2 separate regions of the Homo sapiens genome follow, and region 1 is linked to region 2. The links are contacts of gene promoters, found by promoter capture Hi-C in blood cells and fetal thymus (Javierre and others, 2016). All regions are on one chromosome and are shown on one strand. The core of a region is centred on a gene start or on the middle of the fragment in contact, and the rest is flanking DNA. Distances in the headings are between cores, read along the strand shown.

Region 1 (2,700 bases), core at 201-2,700, 45 kb before region 2:
CACAGTTCAAGGAGGCCAGGAAGACCTCCTAGAGCACCTTGCCCTGGCAGCCAAGGCAGTCCCTATTTTCTTTGATCCACCCAGACAGCCACACACCCCCACCCCCCAAAGGGCTGAGGAGCAGCTACTGTCTGCATAGTCCTGGACGTCGTGGAAGTCCACACGTCGACGCCTCCGGTCTTCTTCCAGCAGGTCACTCTTGGTGCCACATAAGTAGATTTGGCAGCCCTGAGGCAGAAGACAAGGGTCACCTCCACAGGCCAACAAAACCCCAGCCCCTAGTGTTCTAGTGAGGTCTGTTCACCTACCTCCTCTAGGCTGCGCAGTTCCTTCACCCAGAACTTTGCTCGCTCAAAGCTGCTGCTGTCTGTGAGGTCTTGGTGTGCGGCATGCAGGAGACAACCAAGTGGTCAAGGGCTGTTCTCTGGCTAGCCTGGCACCCATCTTTTCTTGTGAGACAGCCCAAACCCCCCCCCCCCTTACCATAGCAGACGATGGCAGCCTTGGCACCCCGATAGTAGATTCTACTCATGGCCTCATAGCGCTCAGAGCCTGCTGTGTCCTAAAGAGTAAGGCCTGAGTCAAACTTAAGGCCACGTTCTCCAGACCCCGCTATTTTCCAGATAAGGAAACGGGTCTATGAGAAATGGGTCTGTGAGGCCACAAATCAACCAGTAATAGGCAGGACCTACACCTCCTCAGGAATGAGTCTCCCAAGAATAGATGGCCGGGGGACTTACCCAAATACCTAATGTCACAGTCCGGTCTCCGACCGACATCACCTTGGCCACGAAGGCGGCCCCGATGGTCTGCAACGAGAGGGAAGAGATCGGGGCCATAGGTGCAGATTACCGGCCCCCCACTCCCCCGCCCACCGTGCCTGGCCCCTCCGGATGCACTCACGTTCTGATAAGGCCCCACCAGAAAGCGGTCGTGCACGTAGCGCTCCACCAGGCTAGTCTTGCCCACGTACTCCTTGCCCAGCATCACCACCTTGACGTCCACGCGCTGCCCGCTCATGCTCCCGGGGCCGCTTCAGCCACGTCAGGGTCCTGAGCGGGGACGGGAGGCAAACCCCGATCTCCGCTCGGCCCAGGCAGCGCCCAAGCCTCAGACCCCGACCCCAAACGGCGCCAACCTACGACTCCAGACAGCGCGTCGGGCTCGAGCTCTGGCCGTGGCCTTGCACTTCGGCAGCGCCCCGTGTGCCCCCGCTGTTCGGCCCCGGGCGCCGATTATCCTTCGAAGACCCCAAGCCTCGGGGCGGCCTGGGAGCGCGCGGGACAGCGTCCTCAACAGCGCAGCACGCCGCCGTGCAGCTCGCTACTCCGTCATTCGCTCGCCTGCCCGGCTTAAGCTCCGTTCTGGCTGGGAATCCCAACCGAACCTGGGGTCTCCCGCAACCCGGCTCCTACCCGCAGCGCCGCGACTCCCGCGGGAGGGGGCTAGAGGGCGAGGGGGCGGGGCCGCAAGGTCACGTGGCGCGGGCGCCGGAAGCGGTGGCTACTGTGTGGCTGCGCCGGAAGTGGCGCGCGGCCGGACAACTCATGGCGGCGGCGGCGGCGGCGGCAGCTGCTTGGGCGCGGTGCGGTGGTGACTGAGCTACGAGCCTGGCGGCGGGTGTGCGCCGAGCCCCGGCCCGGCCCGGCCCTCGCGTGCCTCCCAGGCTCCGCACCCCTGATGCTGCGCGGGTGCTGAGCCCGCTTCGGCCGGGACGATGGTGAAGTATTTCCTGGGCCAGAGCGTGCTCCGGAGTTCCTGGGACCAAGTGTTCGCCGCCTTCTGGCAGCGGTACCCGAATCCCTATAGGTACGTGGTATTTGGAAGAGCAAAACCGCGCCATCTCGCTATCTGGAGATCGAATTATGGGTAACCCCCAAGTACTGGGACCAGGAAGGACTCGATATCGAATCCTAGGTAGACCTTATCGGGGAAGCGGCCAGGCCAGGCCTGCAAGGTCCTGAAGGGAGGTTGGGCCTGGGTGGTGGTTTACTTGAGACCTTAGTGTAAGATTCTTTTCTCAGTGTGGTGAGACAAGAAGAGGCGGCAGTATGGGAGTTGGGAGGGATCTTGGAGTTGGAAATCCTATTTCTCTGCCCGTGGCGCTTTCCTGGGGTGCAATAAATCATGAGGTCCATTCCTGCTAGAAGGCAGGAATCCAGGTCAGTCAGATGGCGGGAGTGGGAATTTGCCCTGGGATGGGCCCTTAACTCTGGTTTGAACCATAGCACATACCACCCTGCAAGGTTACGGGAAGGCGTGGCCTCTCTAGGCCCGGAGCCTCCAAATGGGAATCCCCTCGGGCAGTCTCTTAGGGGCAAGCTTCTGAGGGTCACCTTCACCCTGACACCTGCAGCAAACATGTCTTGACGGAAGACATAGTACACCGGGAGGTGACCCCTGACCAGAAACTGCTGTCCCGGCGACTCCTGACCAAGACCAACAGGATGCCACGCTGGGCCGAGCGACTATTTCCTGCCAATGTTGCTCACTCGGTGTACGTCCTGGAGGACTCTATTGTGGACCCACAGAATCAGACCATGACTACCTTCACCTGGAACATCAACCACGCCCGGCTGATGGTGAGACACCTCCTGTTGTGATTCTGCACCTCCCCCTCTCCCCTCCCCCCGAGATAGAGAGCTCCTCAGATACATGTGGCTAGAGAGCCATAAGGCAGCTTTTGTGGCCGGAGGCAGG
Region 2 (2,700 bases), core at 157-2,656:
AAGCTCAGAAAGCAAGTTTGACCTAAAGAACCTACGTGGCACACTGTAGTCAACAAGTAGAGAATCCACATTCATAAGCACAAACAGAACGCGTCCAAAAAATCTGACCATGATGCAATTCCATCAGCTATCTAACAATAATAAACAATTTTAAAAGATAACTAAAATAGCCCTCATATATTTGAAAACTTTAAAAAAAAATATCTCACATGTACAAAAGTCAGCCCAGAAACCAGATTTCAAATGGTCTCTTTGGTGCCCAGGAGTTTTCTGCACCTGGGGACAACACCCTGAAGAAAGACCAGGCTGTTGGGAGGCTGACCTCAGAGCAGAAGGGCAACTGAGTGAGGGAGGTGGGAAAGGAAAACCCACACACCCATTCCCAGCATGTTCACGGGGAGGCTGGTTTCAGGAATGAGCACATGAGACAGTGGAGGACCTGGAAACAGACTCCTCCAGGACTACGCAGGCCTTGGAAAGTCTTCATGACCCCAGATTAAAACTGCAGATTAGTAGAGACATACTATGATACAGACAATAGAAGGCCTCTGGAGGATCTTAAGCAGGCAAGGCACAGGCTGGAAATGATTCAGAAGCTGCTTTTGGGGACAAACACGATATGACCACAGTTCTTAACCCACAGCAAACCCACCTGGGGAGCTCAGAAAGCTTAATGCCTTGGTCCTACACCAGGCCAACTACATCAGAATCACCTGGCAATAAGAGGCTATTTTACAGTTCAGCAGTTTCCACATCTCTGCTTGCAACGAAACGGAATGCAGATGTAATCAACAGTCAGCCGAAACATCATCAAAAATTTTGATAAAAGATCACTGCATGACGTTGGGTTTATAAACCAAAAGAAGATCAAAATATTCAGTGATGCTGCTCTACCAAAACTCCCGCTGTGCCAGGCACAGTGGTGGTGAGCACCTGTGTCCCAGATACTCAGAGGCTGAGGTGGGAAGATTGCTTGAGTCCAAGAGTTCAAGATAAGACTGGGCAACATAGTAAGATCCCATCTATAATAGAAATTTAAAATTTTAAAAATAACCCCATCTCCAACTACTATTTAAGAGAACACAGTTTCTCAGAATTCATGTACATAAAAACAAAAAGTAGAAGTGGTACTGAACTTGTCTTATTCTGACAGTATTATCCATCCAGATGGGGGTGGGGGGTGACATCCTACTGAGATCTCATGTTTCAAAAAATGTTTACTTTTGTATAATTACTCAAAAACTGTGTAATGCATTTACTTTTATCAAGTGTGTACAGATAATTATAATAATCTCAAACAAAATATTAAAAGTTTCAGTCTCAACAAAATTGAAAAGTTTAAATTATTATATTAATTTTACTTGCAGAAGAATATGGTAGGCTAATGAATAACATTTTCAAGCATTAAATATATTGCATTAGGATAATATTCTGTGTGGAAATGAAAGTACAAGTTCAATTAAAAAACTGACATACTGGCCAGGCACAGTGGCTCACACCTGTAATCCTAGCACTTTGGGAGGCCGAGGTGGGCAGATCACTTGAGGCCAGGAGTCGGAGACCAGCCTCGCAAACATGGCAAAACCTCATCTCTACTAAAAATACAAAAAATTAGCTGGACATGGCAGTGCGCGCCTGTAATCCCAGCTACTGGGGAGGCTGAGGCAGAAGAATCGCTTGAACTCGTGAGGTGGAGGTTGCAGTGAGCTGAGATCGCACCACTGCATTCCAGCCTGGGTGATAGAGCATGACTCTGTCTCAAAAAAAAAAAAAAAAAAAAAAAAAACCTCTACTAAAAACACAAAAACTAGCTGGGCGTGGTGGTGCACACCTGTAATTCCAGCTACTCAGGGGGCTGAGGCAGGAGAATCACTTGAACCAGGAAGGCGGAAGTTGCAGTGAGCCGAGACTGCGCCACTGCCCTCCAGCCTGGGTGACAGAACAAGACTCCGTCTCAAAAAAAAAAAAAAAAAAAGTGGATATCAAATTGCAATATTTAGATTCCACTGAATGTTTAAAATACTGAACAGTTTTAGTTTAAAATGTCAATATTTAAAATATGCTGTCATCCTTTGCAAATACTTAAACCTAATGACAAACAATTTTTGATGCCAACTTTTCAAAAGGTTGCTACAACAGCAAAGAAAGCTTAAAGACCACTGCCGCAGCCTCCGCACAAGACCCCCAAAAGGACAGGGCCTGAGCAGCCTCCCCAGGTCCTATGCTGCAGCCACCAGGCACTTAAGAGTTCTAGTCAACTCTGAGCCACTCCTTCATCTAGACCACCCCCCCTGCACCACAGCAGGAGCTATTTTATGGCTGCTCAGAAGACAGCAGGTGTTCAGGGAATGTTCGCCTGAGTGCATGCCTCTCCCGGATGGAGTGAATGAAGGAGATAAAAAAGGGAAAAGTTTAGGAAGCATCTCTCCAGCTCATTAAAGGAAGAGGCAGTTCTTGGGAAACACTGAACAGAAAATTCTGATTTCCAAGCCATTTCTTTCCAGAGTTTACAGGAAGCACTCCAAATGTTTCAGGAATATCAGCAGAGCCAAATAGAAAGGTGGAGGAAGGAAGGCAAAACAATTGTACTCCAGACTGAAAATTCGATGAAGGCAAGTGCAGAAGCCTCTCAGTCCTGTGACATCCTCGAGCCACTGATGATGCCAACCATCAGCTATCTACAACCAAAATGTAAGCCAC

Evidence for each region. The method cuts DNA at HindIII sites, captures the fragments that hold promoters and counts their contacts. A CHiCAGO score of 5 or more calls a contact.
Region 1: a contact is called between the fragment with the promoter of RAB24 here and a fragment that was not itself captured in region 2, in 2 of 17 cell types (erythroblasts and megakaryocytes). The highest score is 6.0, in erythroblasts.

Annotation. Positions count from the first base shown.
Region 1 is chr5:177,302,269-177,304,968 of GRCh38, forward strand. It overlaps RAB24 (RAB24, member RAS oncogene family), which reads right to left and starts at 1,451. Exons shown (of 8, transcript NM_001031677.4): 1 at 904-1,451; 2 at 741-809; 3 at 484-562; 4 at 309-376; 5 at 129-228. The coding sequence starts at 1,020. PRELID1 (PRELI domain containing 1) reads left to right here and starts at 1,531. Exons shown (of 5, transcript NM_013237.4): 1 at 1,531-1,809; 2 at 2,357-2,582. The coding sequence starts at 1,718. RefSeq lists enhancers at 1-341, 1,506-2,383, 2,022-2,121, 2,232-2,281, 2,302-2,361 and 2 more and silencers at 1,342-1,411, 1,462-1,541, 1,652-1,791. The HindIII fragment of the contact is 8,255 bases long and covers 1-2,320 here.
Region 2 is chr5:177,346,928-177,349,627 of GRCh38, forward strand. The region is part of intron 2 of LMAN2 (lectin, mannose binding 2); the gene reads right to left. Among named protein-coding and RNA genes, the nearest start is that of LMAN2, 3.4 kb to the right of the region's middle. The HindIII fragment of the contact is 1,479 bases long and covers 668-2,146 here.